Linked DNA regions of Homo sapiens: all the other regions are linked to region 1. The links are contacts of gene promoters, found by promoter capture Hi-C in blood cells and fetal thymus (Javierre and others, 2016). All regions are on one chromosome and are shown on one strand. Each heading gives the region's core, a stretch centred on a gene start or on the middle of the fragment in contact. The rest is flanking DNA. Distances are from core to core; before and after follow the strand shown.

Region 1 (2,700 bases), core at 3-2,502:
GGGGAGAAAGAAGCCAGAAGCCAGGGGGTGGGGAAGAGAGACGTCAGCGGGACCTGAGGGCGGCCAGGAGGGGTGGCACCGCGTCACCCCGCCCCCCAACTCTGCCATAACCTGTTTCCACAGCCCCTTCCATCCACAGATCCGTGCTGCGTGCCCTCTGGGAAGGGTGAAGTAAAACCCTCAGTCTGAGCCTGAGAAATCCTGGCATTTGTAGCCCAGGGCTGCGAGGAAGCCACAGGGCGGTCCGCAGGGCGGTATCGAGGCTCTGGGACCCAAGGAGGGGCAGGACGTCGTGCACCCCTCGCGCACGCACCTGTCGGGACCGGCCGCCTCCTCCTGCCTACCTGTCCTGCCTCCTTCGCCCCGAATTTCACCTTAAACCATGATGAACCAAGCCCAGTGGATTCTGAAGCCCGGGACGATGGCAGGTTCGAGAGAGAATTGGGCAGCTGGGGGCGGGGCACAATATTATTTAGGCGCCTCCACCCCACCTTCACAGAAATACATCTGGAAAGCATGGGCTGTCCTAGGGCTGGGGACTGGGGGTTACGGTCTCATCGATGACTCAGAGGGAGAGAAAACCCCCTGGGTCCCAAGCCAAAAAGAATAAAATTCTCCAGAATAGCCAACAAACTCCTCTCAGGCTGTCTGTTCCGGACTTTGAACTCAGCACCCCTCGGGCTCCACCTCCCTCCTAATGGCTCTTTAGGACCAAGAGTCTGGAATGCCACTTTGGGGTCCCAGTTGAGCACACTACCTGAGGGAGCTCTGAGAGCCAGGCCTACAGGGTGCTCTTCATGGTGGCAGCTGGCCATCCTCACCCCCTCCCCTCACATCTTCCAACATCACTCAGTCCCAGGATCTCAGGATATTGTTGGAACTCATCTCCACCTCACACAGCCAGACCAGCCTCAGGTGTCTCCCAGGAAAGACTGCCCCTCAGGCCCTGGGACGGTTCCCAAGCCTGCCAGAAATGAGGTGGAGGCCAACACTGACCTTTGGATGGCTGAGTTTTGGATGACTGACAGCCCCAGATCCTGCTCCAGGTTCCTTCCTCAGGAAGGATCCTGCTCCAGGTTCCTTCCTCAGGAAAAGCCAAGGTCAGGCGCAACTTTGCCAAATCCCTGCCCCTCCTTCAGGCTGGAGACACCACCCCCAAACTCACCATGCGGGGAGGGAAGAAGTCTGGTAGGGACTCTTATTGCAACAGGGCCCCAGCCTTATAAAAAGCCCTGGTAACCCGGCCATTACACATCCTGTCTCTGTGTGTGGAGCTGGCTGGAATCTCTCAGCCTCACCTGCCAGACAACACCCCCTCCTTCCTCACCCTGTCTCCTGCATTCTCCTGAAACCTTCATCCACACAATGCCTCCCAACCTCACTGGCTACTACCGCTTTGTCTCGCAGAAGAACATGGAGGACTACCTGCAAGCCCTAAGTAATGGCCTCGCCCTCCCAGACCCCTGTCACTCCCTTTCTCCCCTCTTCCTTCCTGCTTCTTGGTCCCATGGAGAAGAGGGAATGCCCGGGGTTGGACACTGTGGAAAGGCTCAGGCGGCTGGCACCAGACCTGGGATCCATTTCTAACCAGGCATTGGTAGGAGGGGGTGAATCCACAGTCCCAGACCCAAAGAAGGGAAACTCACAGCCCTGAGGGGCTGCTGCAGGCAGAGGAGCTCCTGGCTGGCTAGCAGCACCCCTACTAACAGGCAGCCCCCACAGACATCAGCTTGGCTGTGCGGAAGATCGCGCTGCTGCTGAAGCCGGACAAGGAGATCGAACACCAGGGCAACCACATGACGGTGAGGACGCTCAGCACCTTCCGAAACTACACTGTGCAGTTTGATGTGGGAGTGGAGTTTGAGGAGGACCTCAGGAGCGTGGACGGACGAAAATGCCAGGTACATTTCCCCTGGCTGGGCGGTGGCCGGAAGGAGGCATCACAGGAGACTCCTAACAACATGGGGCAAAACAAAGTGACCTTCCCCAGCCAGAGCAGCGGGGAGGAGGGGAATGGTCACCACAGCAGGGAATGCAGTCCCCAGGATACCAGTCTCCAGAACTAACAGGTCCTGGTGCTCCCTGTCTCTCTCCCACTTCTTCCCTGCCCCCTCTTATCACCAGCCCAAAGGGCAAAGAACAGGCCAACCCAGACCGAAGAGCAAACATTTGCCCACCCTCCAGCCTGTGACACTGTTGGTCACCCAGAGTCCCTTTTACTTTAGCATCAATAACTTCACTCTCCTGCATTTCTTTCTACTTCTTACATATTCCTTCTTAGCCTCCTTTGCAGATCCTAGTCCTCCTATTAATCCTTTAAACTGGAGTTTTCTCCGCAGAGTTTTGTTCTTAATGTCTTCTCCCTTTTGTCTGCCCACTATCCATAGGCTAAATCATCTACACCCATGCCTTCTGCTTCCATCTATAGGCTGCCCTTGGCATGAATTCTCCAGCCAGAGCCATCTCCTGAGCTCCAGGGCAATGTTTTCAACTGCCTACAAAATACAGTTGGCCCTCCATATTCATGGGTTCTGCATCCACAGCTTCAGCAAACTGCAAATGGAAAAATATTTGGGAAAAATAAAAATAAAAAATAACAATACAAAATGATACAAATAAAAAACAATACAGTATAGCAACTATTTACAGAGCATGTACATTGCATTAGGTATTATAAGTAATCTAGAGATGATTTAAAGC
Region 2 (2,700 bases), core at 13-2,512, 440 kb after region 1:
TAAAAAAAAAAAAAAAAGGTTATTTTTCTCAGCAAGAGGCTCTTACCATTAGTAGGAGAGACCTCAGTTCTGCTTAGAGCTGAGCCCAGGGGGATTCTGGCCAGGTCGGGGTGCACGCTTGTAACAGCATTCACTTGTTCAAACAACATATTCAGCATTTACTATATGCTCAGCAAAGCAACGTATTTCCTTCCATGAGGAACTGACAATCTTGCTGGGGAATCACATGTATGAAATAGTTAAAATATCAATAAAAGGTACGTATTAAATACTATGGGAATTCAGAGGGACCATTACAGGTTGGAGCAATCAGGCAAGGCTTCCTAAAAGGGTTCATATTTAGGTGTTCATAATGAACTATAGTTCATTTATACAACAAGAGTTTACAGACCACTTAACTGCCAGGATATGAGGATACAGCAACGAACAATTCAGTCCTCGCTGTCCTGTAGCCAATATTTTAGTTGGGAGAGGTGGACAGCAAACAATAAATCAGGCAGTAATAAGTGCTATATTTAAGTAAAACAGGGTAAGGGGATAGAGATGTGGGTATGGGCAACAAGAAAAGACCAAAGTAAAGTAAGGGATGTGTCAGAGAGACAGATTTTGATGGCTGGGAGAGTTTCTAACTGGACCTAAGTAGGGACCTCCGAAAAACAAGGATACGTCCTAGTCCTTTCCCGCATATTCAAAGCATTGAGACATTCTTGGGGGTATCAGAAAAAATAATGGTAATTTCCTACATCAGCTTATTCAACATCCAGAGGGAAGAGAAACGGGGTCCCAGCATCTGAAGAACCCACACCTCCTCTCCTACCTTGATGGATAATTCATGAACCTGTCGCGTTTCCACCCCCCCACCTTCCCCAGATGTCCCTTCCGGAAGCTCAGGGCCGGAGTCCTCCGGTTTCAGCTTTTGCCCCTAGCGGAACCCGCCTTCACTTCCGCTATAGCGTCACATCCCCTCTTCCCAGTCGCTGGGCAGAAGCTATTTCCGCCCCGAGTTATCGTAACTTCTGCCCTGAATATCTCGCAGCGCTAGCGGCGCCGGAAGTGTTCCAGCCACTCCCGGAAGTGACTCGGCTTCTGCACGCCCCTCTTTCTCCATTAGCGCCCCCCCTACATTGCTATTTCCCTCCCTCCCCCCTTTTCGTTTCCGGCGCTCCCGCCTTCTCTCCGCAGAGCTCTTCTCTGAGCCTGTTGGGGGGAGGGAGGGGGGCGTGGAGGAACTGGGGTTCGCGGGAGCACGAGCTGCAGCACCACTTCCGGGTGAGTGCAAGGGGAGGGCAGCAAGGAGGGGGGGCCACCCACTACCTCGCGCCCCCGCCCTGCGGGTGTCTCGCGCGCGTTCCGTGCGTGTGAGTGTGTGGGTCTGTCTCGCTCCAGAAGTGCGTGCCCGCGCGCTGCGCCTTGCGCTTTTTCCCCTCCCTCGCCCCTTCCTGGTCCTCCCACCCTCCTCGGCTCCCTCCTTTCCCAGCAAACGCCGCCCCTCCCGCGCCCTGGCTCAGGCTCTGGCGCCGCCGCAGCCGTCGCCGCCCGGTGAGTCTCGCGCCGCTACAGCCGGCGCGCGCCAAGCTGCTTGCTCCTCCCCCCTCCCCTTTTCCTTGGGCAGGCGGGGAAGGGGGGGTCCACGATGTGACTGTGTGTGTGTCCGTCCCGGAACCGGAAGTGGTTGTGGAGGAGCGGGCGATGGGAAGGAATGGGGGGGTTTAGGGGGCGGGTGCCTGTCTGGTGGGTGGCAGAGTTCAGCTCCCTGGAGGGGAAGGAGGGACGTCCCAAGGAAGGGTCTTTGAGAAAGGGGTAGGGGACGACATCAGGAGAAGGCTCCCAGGAACTGTCTCAGGGGAGCGAAGGTTTTGAGGGGACAGCTGGGGTCTCCAGTAGATAGACCACGGTGCAGGCTGAGGGAGGTACTTCTTGGCACAAGGCCTCGGGTAGGCAGGGGGCGAAGTCCTCGAAGAAGTGGGGGGAAGGCTAGAGGAAGTGGCTGGGCCTGAACTGGCACTGTGCCTGCCACAAGGTCTTGTGCATCCCCCAGCCCTCAGCTTTGCCTTCTGAAGCCACTCCTCAGGGGCACAGACCCTCCTCCTCCTCCATCTCTAATGTTCTCTGACCCCTGGTTACCTGTGGCCTGGGAACGAACAAGGACCAGTCTCTGAGCCTAGGAGTGAAACCCAAACGCTGGTGATAGAATTCGTCTTAGTTTCTGGGAATTGGATTTATTTCTCTTGTATCCACGTAGAGGGTAGCACTAGACTGCTGTTATTATATCCACCCGTCTTTGGATTGCTGGCTGGGGGGTCTGCCTGCCTTCCAGACTGACTGCTGACAAATAATTCCTGAGGTTCTCCACAGTTCTCTGGTGGCTGCACCCTGCCTGGCCCCTGTAACCTAGACAATTTGTTTACAGAAAGTTCAGGAGCCCTGGAAAGGAGAAGGAATAAGACGGCAGGAGGAAGAGAGAGAGAGGGTAAGATGATTTTTGGGTTAATGGCTTTTCTGGTTTTGGGGGAGAAGGGGTCACAACCAAATGGGGCGTGTGTGTGTTTCACAATGTGATAGAATACTTAAAGTAATAGCAATTGTAATGCTGAGATTGTTGTGGAGAGAAATCAGTTTTTTTCTATTATCTCTTGAGGGTCAGGAAGTTTTTGTGTAAAAAGTTGGCGCTATCCCCCATCACTTTCCATTCCTACTAAT
Region 3 (2,700 bases), core at 44-2,543, 510 kb before region 1:
TTCTTTCTGGTGGGTTCATGGTCTGGCGGGCTCAGGAGTAAAGCTGCAGACCTTTGCGGTCACTGTTACAGCTCTTAAGGCAGCGCGTCGGGAGTTGTTCGTTCCTCCCGGTAGGCTCGTGGTCTCGCAAGCTTTCGTGGTGAGTGCTGTAATTCACAAAAGTAGTATGGACCCCAAGAGCGAAAGAACAAAGCCCCACCAAGGCAGAGAGACACCCGAGCGGGTTACTACTACCAACTCGGGCAGCCTGCTTTTATTCTCTTATCTGGCCCCCCCCCAACCACATCCTGCTGATTGGTAGAGGCGAGTGGTCTGTTTTGACAGGGCGCTGATTGGTGCGTTTACAATCCCTGAGCTAGGTACAAAGGTTCTCCTCCTCCCCATCAGATTAGTTAGATACAGAGTATCCACACAAAGGTTCTCCAAGGCCCCACCAGAGCAGCTAGATACAGAGTGTCGATTGGCGCGCTCACAACCCTGAGCTAGACACAGGGTGCTGATTGGTGTGTTTACAAACCTTGAGCTAGATACAGAGTGTCCATTGGTGTATTTGCAATCCCTGAGCTAAACATAAATTCTCCACGTCCTCACCAGACTCAGGAGCCCAGCTGGCTTCACCCAGTGGATCCCGCACCGGCGCTGCAGTCCCACGCCATGCGCTTGCACTCCTCAGCCCTTGGGCGGTCGATGGGACTGGGCGCCGTGGAGCAGGGGGCGGCGCTCGTCGGGGAGGCTCCGGCTGCACAGGAACCCACGGAGGCGGGGGAAGGCTCAGGCATGGCGGGCTGCAGTCCCAAGGCCTGCCCCGCGGGAAGGCAGCTAAGGCCCGGTGAGAAATCGAGCGCAGCGCCGGTGGGCTGGCACTGCTGGGGGACCCAGTACACCCTCCGCAGCCGCTGGCCCGGGTGCTAAGCCCCTCACTGCCCCGGGCCGGCAGGGCCGGCCGGCTGCTCCGAGTGCGGGGCCGCCAAGCCCACGCCCCCCCGGAACTCCAGCTGGCCCGCAAGCGCCGCGCGCAGCCCCGGTTCCCGCTCGCGCGTCTCCCTCCACACCTCCCTGCAAGCTGAGGGAGCGGGCTGCGGCCTTCGCCAGCCCAGAAAGGGGCTCCCACAGTGCAGCGGTGGGCTGAAGGGCTCCTCAAGTGCCGCCAAAGTGGGAGCCCAGGCAGAGGAGGCGCCGAGAGCGAGCGAGAGCTGTGAGGACTGCTAGCACGCTGTCACCTCTCAATGGGATTAACCACACTTTACCCACGCAACCTTAGCTTATCTGCCTTGTGTGATTCCCTTTGACTTCCTAAGCCTATGTGATCTACCTGGCTCCCTGAAAAATTGATCTTTGGAGAGACTGTGTTGTTTTTGGTCAAGGCTCCTTTAACAGAGGCAATGTGCTAGACTGCCTGCTATTATGGCCCATGCCAAACCATTTACCCTCAGAAAAATGGTTCTGGTTAACTTCTGAACTTAAAATCTCCCTACTAATTATACCATTTTAACAGGAAACAGATTAGATGTCTTAAAAGAGCGTAGGAACAGAATGGCCATTTTCCTGCTTATGGGACAATATCAAGACTAAAATGTGGCAGCAGACATATTACTTCTTTTTGAGACAGAGTCTCACTGTCACCCAGGCTGGAGTGCAGTGACGTAATCTCAGCTCACTGCAACCTCTGCTTCCCCGTTTTAAGCAATTCAATAGCCTCAGCCTCCTGAGCAGCTGGGACCGCAGGTGTGCACCACCACGCCCAGCTAATTTTTGTGTTTTTAGTAGAGACGGGGTTTCACCATATTGGCCAGGCTGGTCTCGAACTCCTGACCTCGTGATCCACCCGCTTTGGCCTCCCAAAGTGTTGGGATTACAGGCGTAAGCCACCATGCCCGGTCGAGGACATATTACTTCTAATTGCTGAAGGCAGAACTTTCCGGTTCACAGAAGTAGGTTAGAGCCTGATTTCTGGTGGTGCAAAAGGAAGTTCAGTGTTACCGTAAAAAATGTGGCCCCTGAAGAGGATTTCTACTTCCACTAGGTGGCGCTGTTGGCTTAGAAATACTATATGCTCACCAGCGCAGCCACAGAGAGCGGGCTTGTTGAGTTACTGCCTGCTGCGTTTGCCATCTTTCCTAGCAGACCTGTTTCACTGAACTGTAAAACTCCCTGCACTTTTCACAGAGAGAGAGTAAGAGACCGTGGATAGAGAAAGAAGGAAAATTTTGCAACAGGATAGTAAGAAGAGAGCCTTGAAATTGAAGGAGAGATTTGAGGTTGGGGCTCGCTCTATAGTCACCACTCCGATGAATGAATTCCCGGTCAATGCAACCAAAATGATAACTGCTCTGATGAATGGAAGAACAGCAGGGTCCTTGGTCTAACATCGTTTTAGATAAAGCGACATGGACACATGTAGAGTGGTTTTAAGGAGTGGAGAGTTTAATAAGCAAGAAAGAAGGAAGAAGCTTCCCAGTACAGGGACAGAGGGAGGGGGGCTCCCAGAGAGAAACCCCGTGTGTGGCAGAGTAGTTTGTTATAGCAGGAGGCTGGAGGAGGAGGTGTCTAATTTGCATAGGGCCCAGGAGATTGGTTTGACCAGGCGTGTCATTCACATAGCCCGTGAAAAACCTGGCACTCCTACCTTACTCCTTTAATATGCAAATGCAGGTCACCATGATATCCATGTTATCTGGAGGCAATCATGACACTTGGCAC
Region 4 (2,700 bases), core at 89-2,588, 400 kb after region 1:
AGATCGAGATCATCCTGGCTAACACAGTGAAATCCCATCTCTACTAAAAATACAAAAAAGTTAGCCGGGCATGGTGGCGGGCGCCTGTAGTCCCAGCTACTGAGGAGGCTGAGGCAGGAGAATGGCGTGAACCCAGGAGGCAGAGCTTGCACTCAGCTGAGATCACGCCACTGCACTCCAGCCTGGGTGACAGAGCAAGACTCCGTCTCAAAAAAAAAAAAAAAAAGAGAAAGCTGAAGCCCTAAAACAAAAGTGACCTGATCAAGGTGACATGAGAATTAACAGCTACTACACTGGTGGAGACCGGCTGGAAATCAGGTTTCCTATTCTGAATAGGATGCTCTTTTGCTTAAAATGAAAAATAGTGGGCTTTACAGATCCCTTATCTCCAAAGGAGAGCTGGTTTGCTTGTTCACTGGTTACTTCTGCAAGTTGGCATTTAATTATCACTGTTTTCTTGTTCAACTGAATGGTTATTGGATCACAAAATGAGCCCTGCCCACCCATTCTCAAATTCAAACCTTTGCCCACGCTTCTCTGAGGGCTATTCAAGCCAGCAACCCACCTCTCTAACATTGGGCATGTCCAGCAGTTCTCCAAACACGTAGACACCAGGGGCCTCCAGCACCTGATGGATGAGTGTGGCCAGCGCTGCCCCCTTGGCCGACTTGGCTAGGAGCAGAAATTGCTCCTGGTTCTGCCCTGTCACCTTCACTTCCGCACTCATCACTGCACTGAGTGTGGGGGACTTGGGCTCAGGATGTCCAGAGCTGCAAGGAAAGAGGATGTGAAGCTAGAGGTCCCCGATGGCTGGTCGGATGGGAAGCACAAGGCTGAGGGACTGGATTGTAAAGGCACTAAGTCGGTTCTGCGGTGAGGAATCAGACATGGAGCGGTCTAAAATTCTGATCTAGGAATCCTAAAGTCAGCCACTTCGCAAGGCTGCCACACCCACCCCCTCCCCTGGGCCTAACCCCAAGCCCCATCACGTGCACCCCATTGAACCCCAAGACACAGGATGCAAAGGAGAAATGGGTGTCGCATGGTGTCCACCCTGACGACGCTCCCTCAGCTCTCCATTGCTGCCCCGCACGCGCCCACAACCACGTGACCTCACCCCCATTGAAGCTTACACGTGGCTCCGCCCCCTCCCTTAAAGACACCGCCCAGCGACCGTGGGCTCCCGCCGACTGCTTCGTCGTACCCTGGGTCAGGCTCTGCGGGCCGCTACCTGGAAGCTTCGACCTCCAGCGCACCGGGCGGGGCCGCCGCTCCGTCACCTCCGGCAGCTGTTCCAAGCCTTTCCTGCCACCTCCCTGAAGAGTCGCTCTGGCCACTAAACTCTATGGCGGGCTTCCGGCCGTACTTCCGCTCTAAGGACGCAAATTTCGGCAGGACATGCCCCACCCCCGCGTTCCGACCGCTGAAGCTCCAGTGAGGGACGCAGGCATTCTACTCTTCGATTGGTCGCTGGGGGAAGAATGACGGGCGCCTTTTTAAATGCTTTATTTCAATAAAACTTTATTAGTGGAAGAGCGCCAGCTATTAACTACAGACGTCTCTGGTGGGTCCCTGGTCCCGGCCCATTCTGTGTCTGTTCTAAGCCGCTGGAGAGCTGGAGATCAGGACTGCACTGGGTACCTGAGGCAAGAGAAAAGCTGTAACGGAAGGAGTGAAGAAGAGGGAAAAAAACGGGATGAGGAAACAAGGGGCAGAGAGGAAGCAAACAAAAATCAATAATAGAAGTTTAGCAGCAGAGATCACCTAGGTGGTTCAACCACTCACTTTTTTGAAGAGCAGGAGAAAAGAAGCGAGAAAAATAAAAGAGAGAATAAAGCTAACATGTATTGAGTGCTTACTATTGGTCAGACATCTTTTAAAATTTTATTCCGTTGAATCCTCACAAATATTCCCCTGTGACTTCAGGACACCCTCTACCATGATTACTACATATGTATTAATACTTGTAGAATGATGCTTTCAGTACATGGACTCTTAATTTCTTGGGGAGGAAAAAACCCTATGTGGTTCTCATTTTACAGAAAAGGAAATTGAGGCTCATAAAAATCCAAGGATTTATCTGGAGCTTTTCAAACTCAAAACCATCTTTCTACTTCAATATGATACTTTAATAAAAACAAAAACAACTAACATTTCTATAGTGTTTTATATTTCACAACAGGCTTGCAGAAGGTCAAGTGAGGGTAAAGTTAATGACATCTTGGCCTTTGTGTTAAGCCATGAGCATTACTTAATTCATCTGATACAACGATCTAGTAATTGTTATCTCCACTTTCCAGATGGAAAAACTGAACTCAGGAAAATTAAGAAACTTGTAAGTAATGGAAAGACAAGAAAGTGAAAAAGAGAAAGATAAAGAGAAATAGGACTCGTAGTCTGTTAGGGCTAAAGGAACTGCAGATGCAGTTTATGGTCCGCATATTTTGGTTTGTGATAGAAAATAAGCAGAAACACAGAAAGGAAAGAGAAAGGAGGAAGAGGAGAAGAAGAAATGAATGGAAAAGGTGAAACAAAAGTGAGTAGAAGGAATCAAAGGCATAATAAAATATTCAGAGTTTGAAGGAAGCAAGGAATTAATGAGTCCAAACATTATTATTATTATTTTGCATCCACCCCTCCCCGCCCCAAGCTTATCTTTTTTTTTTTTTTTTAATTTGAGACGGAGTCTCGCTCTGTCGC
Region 5 (2,700 bases), core at 201-2,700, 360 kb after region 1:
CACTCGCTGGATTTCAGACATACAAAGACACCTACTCAGTGAAGTCACATGCCACCGCACAGCCCGCCGGAGGGCCACACGGGCGCACCTTGGCAGATCGCACACAGCCCCTCTCCCACCGCCGTTAATCCCATTGGCTCCCCCCGTTTCACTCCGCGGGCCTCCGGGAGACCTGTGTGACGGCCCCTCAGCAACCACCGCGCCCCCCCCCCCCGCCATACACATACACACACAAGATAGGGCTCCCAGCCCCCAAACCCCGGCCGCGTTAATTTCCCAAAGCGACACTCCGCAGGTTCCCTGGGGAAATTAGAGGAAGGCTGGAAGAGAGGCAAGGGCGAACGGATGGGGCCGGGGAAGGGAGCTGATGAGGGCGAGGACAGCTCGACGCAATGCCATGCAATGCCCAGCCTCGGCTTTTTCGAAGGCTAGTCCTGCCCCGCTTCTAATTTTTAGGAATTCGAGATTCTTTCAGTGTGTATGCGGGAAGGGGACGATGAAGAGAAAAGAAAGCTGAAAGCCAGCTGAGGGGAGGGAACGAGAAAACAGAGGCGGCCGCCGTCCGGGGAGAGAAGCGAGCGACGGTCGGGCCGCGGGGAGGGGCCCGGAGGAGCAGCCTCCAGGGAGAGTCCTGTTTACACTTGAGGATCTCAAACCGCTTAGCGAGGAAAGGTGAGGTCAGGTTGCAAGCAAAGACGCGGCAGCGGGGCGCAGGGAGGGGGCGCGGCAAAGTGAGACTCGGGGCGTTCGGACGGGAAGCCGGACGGGATCCGGTCAGCGAGGTGGGGCCGAAGAGGGGTGGGGACGGCTGCGGGGGACGGCGCGACCGGAGCGGCGAGGCCGGGCGCCGTGGTGCGCGCAGGGCAGCTAGAGGGCGCTGGCGCTAGCCGCGCGGAGCCGGGAAAGGAGCTCCGGGCCGGGGAGCGGTGGGAGGGCGCAGTGGGGTCCGCCAGGACCCGGGCGCAAGGGCCGCGCGGGGCCGTCGGGGGCGGCCTGGGGCGAAGGACCGCGCCGGGCCCCAGGGCTGCGCGAGGTCCGGGCCGCCGCCGCCCCCGCCCGTACCTTGGCGCTCAACTCGGCCGCTGCCTCCACGCTTTTCTCCGACATGGTGCCGGGGCCGGGGCCGGGGCTGGCGGGGAGCCGGGGTCCCGGGGCCGAGACGGAGGGGCCCTGGACGGCGGAGGGTGGCCGCGGCCGGAACCTGGCGCGGTGGCGGCGGCGGCGGCGACAGCGGCAGCGGCGGCCGCTCGGCAAGCTGGGTCTCTGGAAGAGGCGGCAGAGGCGCGCGGGGTGGGGCGGGGGTGGGTCTGGAGCGGAGACCCGCAGGGCTGCGGCCGTCCGGAGGGCGGGCGGAAGGGCGGTGCAGGCGGTGGCCGGCGCGCTCGGCCGCGGTAGCTCGATCCCGGGCTCGCCGCCCCCGCACCAGCAGAGCTGCCGCCGACCAGCCGCTGCCGCCCCCGGGAAGGGAACCCGCTTATAAGGCGGCGCTGCCCGACGGGAGGGGCTTCCCAGGGGTGGGGCAGGCGGGAGCGGGGAGGAGAGGAGAGGGGAGGGGGATGAAAGAGGAGGTTGGAGAGGTGGGGATAGGAGGATGAAAGCGAGGGGAGGGAGAGCTAGGGAGTCGGGAGGGAGGACGAGACCAGGAGGGGGAAATGGAGAGACTGACGGCCGCGGAGAAAGAGTGGGGCGAGGAGGTGGGAAGGGGTGGGGTTCCTGCGGGGAGGCACCTTTCCAAATCCCAACCTACTGCCTGCGAATGTGGAGTCTGGCTTTTGGGGGCGGACTGGAGAGGTGGCCAGAATCCTACTGACCCCAAAAAAAGCCCTGGGATTTTGCCAAGGGGTGGGGTGAGGGGAGCAGATGGGAAGATAGGGCAGGTATTTGAGAAACCAAAAGCTTAAAGAAGAGGAAGAGGGTTCGGGCGCTCCTTCCACACCACGCCGGATTTCCCCCTCTCATCCTCCATCCACATTCTCTGGATGGCCTTGAGGAGGGATGGGAGGGCAGAAAGGGCGGCCCAGCCTTCTGTCCCGCCAGATTGACACTTGTGACCCTTGCCGGGTGCCTCCCTTCCTGGCCCCGTGCTGTGAGCCGGGGGGAGTCAGGCCCCCTGGTCTCCTTTGCTGTCTTCCAGCTCTCTTCCATCTTCTACCTCTCTTATTCGCCCGTCTCACCTCACTTTTATTCGCCTGGTCCTTCTATTTCTCTTCATCCGTCCTCAGTCATCTGTACCTAGACCCCTCCTTCACAACCAATTATAACTCGAATCGCTCCCATTCTTCTCTCACCTCTTCTCCACTCCTCACTGACTCTCTTCTGCCCTTCCACCTCTGGTCTCTTTCCCTATCTTTCCCAGACAACCCTGCTCTTGTCTTATCTGAGTCAGGCACCTGGCCCTCTATTCTTGGCTGGCTTTCCTCAACTCCTCTTTCTGTCCTCATTTTTTACATTTTCCATCCTTCAGCTTTTCTCATTCCTCTGCTGCCATCTTCCCTAGCCTTTCTGGGTTATATTTGCCTCCTTTGCAAATATAATACAGGTCCAGGTCTGGAGTTCCAGCCCCACCCTATTCCACACATCCTCAGCTCCTCGCCCTCAATCTCGGTATCTTTGAGTCATTTTGAAAAGCTTGGGATTTCAGAAGGGAACAGGGGCTGGGTTGTGTATTAAAGGTCAGGAAGGTGGACAGAGTGGAAGGCT
Region 6 (2,700 bases), core at 103-2,602, 490 kb before region 1:
TTTATTTTAGCTATTCTAATCATTGTGTATTGGTATTTGATTGTGGTTTTAATTTGCATTTCTCTAATGACTAATGGTGTTAATTTCAGGTGATTATTTTCCATGTGACTATCTTCCCTGGGGAAGTGTCTGTTCAAATCTTTTTGCCTATTGTTTACTCTTTAAAATTGAGTTATGAGAGTTCTTTATGTATTCTAGATACAAACTTATTATTAAATATTTGATGTGCAATTATTTTCTCCCAGCCTATGGCTTGCCTTTTCAATCGTGTATAAGCCATATCAGGTGTATACAGTGAATCTTAGGGAACCAATAGATATTATGTTTTAGACTATTCCTATGTAACTGAATAATTCTTTTTTCCTGAATATGTTACAACATGTGAAACTCTTCTAAATCTGAATAAAATAAGAATATAAACTTCTGTAAGAGAAAAAATTAGAAAAAAACATTGATATAAAATTAAGTGTCCTCTTTTTGTGGGATCAAACATAGTAGTATTAAGGTTATGTTTGTGAATAGCACAGGTGTAGTAATGCCAGCGCTAAAACTAGAAGAGAAAGTAGCAAGAGCACAGCTGTAATTAATACAGATCAAATAAATATCAATTTTTGATGTTGGATATAGTTTGTGGTTGAATATTAATAACTGTTAAAATTAGTAGCATCTAACATTGATGAAATATTTGCTAAGTGTAATGAGAAAATGGTTTGATCTACAGAAGCTCCTGCCTGGGCTAAATTTCCAGCTAAAAGTGCTGTTTTAAAGCTTTAAAATGATTCCACTTCCATAGTTTGCTACTTGAGTAACGTATATTTTGATGTGATAGGAAAATGTAATTCCCCCTCCCTGCAAGAGTGTTATGTCACACCTCATCAGACCACATATGTGAGTAATTGACCTCAACTCCAAAATACATATAAACCTAAGATTTTGACAGACACTTTGACAGCTCAGACTGTGGCAAAGCCCCAAACAGGTGGGTAGACTGGTCACCCTGTTTAGCAGCAGCTTAGACTATTGCAAGAGGAGGAATGATAGGGGCAGAAGTCAGAAACCTATTCTGTATTTCTGGGAATACTTTATCTGGAGCCCCAATTATTAATGGAATTAATAAATTACTGAAACCATTGATTAGAATAGGTAAAACCATAAAAAATTATTGCAAATATATAGGCAGCAATGATAACATTACAGATTTGATCATCTCCTAATACATAGCTTCTGGCTGACCCAATTTGGTATGGACATGTCCTGCACATGTACCCTAGAACTTCAAATAACAATAAAAATTTTAAAAAGCCCACAAGCTACAAAAACAAAAAAACAAAAAGAAGATGGAAGGCAGTCCCCACTATTCTGGCTTAGGCACCAAATTATAATGTGTCAGTGTTTTTGTGGTTTGTTGAGAATAATCAACGATTAATGAACATAGGGAGAAGCAAGGTAAAAATGGCTGAGTGAGCATTAGTCTATAAATCTAAAGACAGAGATTAAACCTCTTTTCACCAAGTCCTGAGGTGAAATTTCACACTGAATTTGCAAAGTTAAAGGAGCAGCTTCAATTCTGCAGCGGTAGGGGGGCACTTCTGCATTTTTTTTTCCAGGGAGGGAAAAGTAGAGTAAAGCCAGTTGGTTAAGATATTTAGCCGCTAACTAATGTATTGGATGAATATTATTATATTATTAAAATTAATAAATTATCAATTATTAAAATCCTTCTTTGAGTCTAAAAAACATAGGCCATCAATATTACTGAAGTTATGAATACAAAAACTATGAAGACCTAAACTGCAACCCTTATATAATTTCCACAGCTGACCAAAAGCCAGAGAAGCATAACTAATCAAGGTCAATGACCATAGAAAAGTCAATTTGTGTGTTAATCTCATTTGAAGATATATTATACTCATGAGCCATACCTTCATTAAGCTTAAAAACTGACACAATTTTCATACGTTTAAATCAAGAAACTTCAATATATATACCCAGCCAGGTTTATACTATGGGCAATGCTCAGAAATTTGTGAATCAAATTTCAAGTACAATGTACTTGAATTAGTACCATCAAAACGTTTTGAAAATTGATCAATATCTATATTATAATATCCTTGTGAAGCTAAATAACAACCTTTTAAGTTAAAGACTGAGAGTAAAAAAAAGTTGTCTCTGGCTTATTTATTATGTAAATCTTTATAATGATTGTAAGTTTCAAAGGCCCAGACTGTTTCAACTACAGATGCAGGTGAAGCTAACGTAGAGAAATGAGAACACTTACTATATATGGCTTGTTTTATTTTCTTGGGAGATAGAGAAAAGTTATAGGGAATTATTCCTTATATAACTCTAACTATATTTCCTATGTAACTTTAATGCTAGGATTAAGTATCAAACTTAATAGGCCCCTCTCTGCAATAGGTTCGTTTCAGGAATCACTGGCCCTAGGAATCAACAAAGCTCAGAGTTGGAGGAAAAACCAAGCTTTCAGTATTTGAGGCAGCTCCTTGTGGAAGGCAGTCATTAAAAACTAAAAAAGAAAAAAAAATTTAGAAGATATATTCTTTTAGTAGTCAAGACAAAATGCTACTAGGAAAGTAAAAAGAAAATTAGAGGAGGACATTTTCATCTGCCATTACTCCTTGTATACTTATTTACCCTGGGGAAGTCATGGAGAAAAAAGTTTCTAGATTTAGATATCTG
Region 7 (2,700 bases), core at 82-2,581, 470 kb after region 1:
GCAGCTATCTCTAAAATACTATCTTACTAACACCACTATTAGGTTATGGCCTTTGTGTTGGCAGTGTGTTGACAGCCTAGTGTGTTGGCAGCCTCTCATACCCTTGACTGCTTCCCATTCTGATGAAAACCATAGAAATCACTCTACCATAGCTGACTAGAGTGATGGCTAGCAACTAACTAGCCAACTAGCCCAGTAGTGATACTGCTGCATCCCTCAATCCCTTCAGAATTATGATGCTAACATCACATATAAACAAAAGGAAAACAAAAACACGAGATTTCCCCCTTAGAGAGTAGCAAGAGGGGCCAGGCACAGTGGTTCGCACCTGTAATCCCAGCACTTTGAGAGGCTGAGGTGGGCAGATCACCTGAGGTCGGAAGTTCGAGACCAGCCTCACCGACATGGAGAAACCCCATCTCTACTAAAAATACAAAATTAGTCTGGCGTGATGGTGCATACCTGTAATCCCAGCTACACGGGAGGCTGAGACAGAAGAATCACTTGAACCCGGGAGGTGGAGGTTGCGGTGAGCCATGATCACGCCATTGCACTCCAGCCTGGGCAATAAGAGTGAAAATTCTGTCTCAAAAAAAAAAAAAAAAAAGCAAGAGGGCAAGGCAGGAAGTAATATTTTATATGTGAAAGTGTATTCTAGTGTAACGTACAGGAGCTCTGACAAAAGATGTGCAGAATTATAGCTTTATTATGAGTCATTCTTTGTATTTATAAGTAGAAAGGTGATCATCTTTCTCAAGTTAAAAAAATAATGCTGGGGGAGATGGTGTTTGTGTGAGTGAATAGAAATTCAGACGGTTTAAATGTCTCAAGGCCTGATACTCTTCCCCAACTTCCTTAAGAAACTAACTGGCTTGAAAAAAGTCATTCTGCAAAAGAGGGAAAAAAAGTTGGATCTTCCAGTTGCTGAGAAGGTATGTTTACGCAATATGAGCCTAAAGTGAACAGTTACCCCTGCACGGATTACCATACATTCCCGTTTTGGAGGGAAAAAAGTTTGCTAGAGAATGCAAAATGGCGACCTCCAGTGACGTCATACCTGTCTCGGTCGCGTCCTGGGGTGTCTGTAAGGGCGGAAGCGGGCTACAGCCGCCTCACTGTGGGCGGTCGTGGCTACCATGCAAAAGGAAAAGTTTCAGTGTCGGGCGGATGTGTACCGGCGGTAATATAGTAAGGGCGGAAGTTCTCCTTTAAGGGCGGAAGTTCTCCTTTTAAGGGCGGAAGTTCTCCTTTTAAGGGCGGAAAGGCTTTAGCCGCAAAATGGCTTCGGCCCCTGTCGCGTTACAGTCACTTCCGGGGCGGATCGGAAGTTGCTTTGTTTTGCTTCGAGATGGCTGCGGGGATGTATTTGGAACATTATCTGGACAGTAAGAGCAGGCTGGAGGTGGGGGTCGGGGCTGCAGAGTGGTGCGGGGATCAGGGATGAGAGGATCTGTAGCCCTTAAGTTCCAGTGACGAGAAGGTCACAATTATGAAGCGGTTCTGTGGCAGGAAATATTGGAGGGTGCGGAGAAAGAGGGGGCGGGGCAGCAGGATCGAGGCCCCGCTGATGGGTGTAGACGAGGGAGGGGTGCGGTGTGGGGGTTAGAGACGTGTCTTGAAGGGCTAGTGTGCATGGCCAGGAAGATAGTTGCTGCCCCCATTCTCCAGGGTCTCCAGCCTCGGTAGATTTTTTTCCCCATAGTCGTTCAGAATCGTTATCACACACTGCCATTTGGAGAAGCGGTAAAGACCTCTCCTCCACTCCATTCTTCCTCAAAAGTGGCTTCTCATGGGGTTGAGAGTGGTGGTGATGAGTGACCACTGTCAGATGATGAACTAGAACGCTTCTCTTCATGGAGTAAAGATCTAATTCCCATCAAATGAAAATCTGGTGTTTATGCGATTTATGTAAACCACCCCTGCAGAAAGCCTATTGCTCTGTGCGCTTACATTTGTTTTAGGGCCCGGAGTCATTTATTCAACAAATATTTATTGAGGTCCTGCTATGGGTCAGACATAATGGCAGGCACTAGGGATAGAAAAATGAGTAAGACAAGGCTCCTGCCCTCAAGAAGCTCACGATCTAGTAGGAAACAGATTCTGCAAATAATTATAAAACACTGTGACAAGTGAGATAATGGAAATACATTAAAAAGGACACTTGGTAGGCAACCCTGGAGAAAAGGGGGGTAATTACCTGGGGATGTAGGAAAAGCTTTACAGCGGAGGTGATGTTTGAATAGGGTCTTGAAGGTTATTTGCCAGTGAGGAGAGAAAAAAGGAATTCCAGGTTGGGGAAAGCATCCGCAAAGGTACTGTGATGGGTTTGTGGCAAGGTCAAGGGTGTTTGATATTTATGACTCAGAGGTCAGCGTATTTGATATTTATGAATCTAAGGTAAGAAATTGAGAAAGGAGACTGGAGAAAGAGGCTGAGGCTAGATTGGACAAGGTCTTTTAAGCCAAACGAAGAAGTTTGCATTTTAAAGTAGAGTATGATTTTTATAGAGGAAAATGACTAATATATGGTAAATTGGAGCATGATATTGTTGATAACAGAGATCAATTAGTGATAACATTCCAGGACAGAGATAAGAACCTGATTTTAGGGAGTTACAGAAGTATTTAGGAGTTAAATATGAAAGGACTGACTGAATGACTGAGTGGTTGAGAGAGAAGGAAGAATCTAAGGTGGCTTCTT

Evidence for each region. The method cuts DNA at HindIII sites, captures the fragments that hold promoters and counts their contacts. A CHiCAGO score of 5 or more calls a contact.
Region 2: a contact is called between the fragment with the promoter of ZNF384 here and the fragment with the promoter of RBP5 in region 1, in 1 of 17 cell types (activated CD4 T cells). The highest score is 5.5, in activated CD4 T cells.
Region 3: a contact is called between a fragment that was not itself captured here and the fragment with the promoter of RBP5 in region 1, in 11 of 17 cell types (fetal thymus, non-activated CD4 T cells, naive CD8 T cells and 8 more). The highest score is 9.4, in fetal thymus.
Region 4: a contact is called between the fragment with the promoter of COPS7A here and the fragment with the promoter of RBP5 in region 1, in 6 of 17 cell types (naive CD4 T cells, total CD4 T cells, activated CD4 T cells and 3 more). The highest score is 7.3, in naive CD4 T cells.
Region 5: the fragment with the promoter of PTMS here is called in contact with the fragment with the promoter of RBP5 in region 1 in 1 of 17 cell types (activated CD4 T cells); the score reaches 5.1 in activated CD4 T cells.
Region 6: a contact is called between a fragment that was not itself captured here and the fragment with the promoter of RBP5 in region 1, in 1 of 17 cell types (M0 macrophages). The highest score is 5.0, in M0 macrophages.
Region 7: a contact is called between the fragment with the promoter of ING4 here and the fragment with the promoter of RBP5 in region 1, in 4 of 17 cell types (non-activated CD4 T cells, naive B cells, total B cells and 1 more). The highest score is 6.8, in non-activated CD4 T cells.

What each region holds. Positions count from the first base shown.
Region 1 is chr12:7,127,441-7,130,140 of GRCh38, reverse strand. It overlaps RBP5 (retinol binding protein 5), which reads left to right and starts at 1,252. Exons shown (of 4, transcript NM_031491.4): 1 at 1,252-1,438; 2 at 1,723-1,901. The coding sequence starts at 1,366. It also overlaps a transcript of CLSTN3 not described here. RefSeq lists a silencer at 1-13. The HindIII fragment of the contact is 14,463 bases long and covers 1-2,700 here.
Region 2 is chr12:6,687,937-6,690,636 of GRCh38, reverse strand. It overlaps ZNF384 (zinc finger protein 384), which reads left to right and starts at 1,262. Exons shown (of 12, transcript NM_001385745.1): 1 at 1,262-1,539; 2 at 2,411-2,470. RefSeq lists silencers at 1,144-1,223, 1,304-1,413 and an enhancer at 784-1,410. The HindIII fragment of the contact is 17,984 bases long and covers 1-2,700 here.
Region 3 is chr12:7,638,184-7,640,883 of GRCh38, reverse strand. No RefSeq gene overlaps it. Among named protein-coding and RNA genes, the nearest start is that of APOBEC1, 26 kb to the left of the region's middle. RefSeq lists silencers at 752-851, 1,933-2,062 and an enhancer at 2,504-2,700. The HindIII fragment of the contact is 2,319 bases long and covers 134-2,452 here.
Region 4 is chr12:6,722,684-6,725,383 of GRCh38, reverse strand. It overlaps COPS7A (COP9 signalosome subunit 7A), which reads right to left and starts at 1,338. Exons shown (of 8, transcript NM_001164094.2): 1 at 1,205-1,338; 2 at 566-770. The coding sequence starts at 727. RefSeq lists enhancers at 684-903, 1,034-1,173, 1,204-1,413. The HindIII fragment of the contact is 1,412 bases long and covers 1,241-2,652 here.
Region 5 is chr12:6,765,113-6,767,812 of GRCh38, reverse strand. PTMS (parathymosin) reads right to left here and starts at 1,450. Exons shown (of 5, transcript NM_002824.6): 1 at 1,063-1,450. The coding sequence starts at 1,107. RefSeq lists silencers at 646-1,145, 1,256-1,585. The HindIII fragment of the contact is 8,838 bases long and covers 1-1,898 here.
Region 6 is chr12:7,619,275-7,621,974 of GRCh38, reverse strand. No RefSeq gene overlaps it. Among named protein-coding and RNA genes, the nearest start is that of APOBEC1, 45 kb to the left of the region's middle. The HindIII fragment of the contact is 1,164 bases long and covers 771-1,934 here.
Region 7 is chr12:6,661,750-6,664,449 of GRCh38, reverse strand. It overlaps ING4 (inhibitor of growth family member 4), which reads left to right and starts at 1,331. Exons shown (of 8, transcript NM_016162.4): 1 at 1,331-1,385. The coding sequence starts at 1,349. RefSeq lists an enhancer at 1,301-1,360. The HindIII fragment of the contact is 5,227 bases long and covers 1-2,217 here.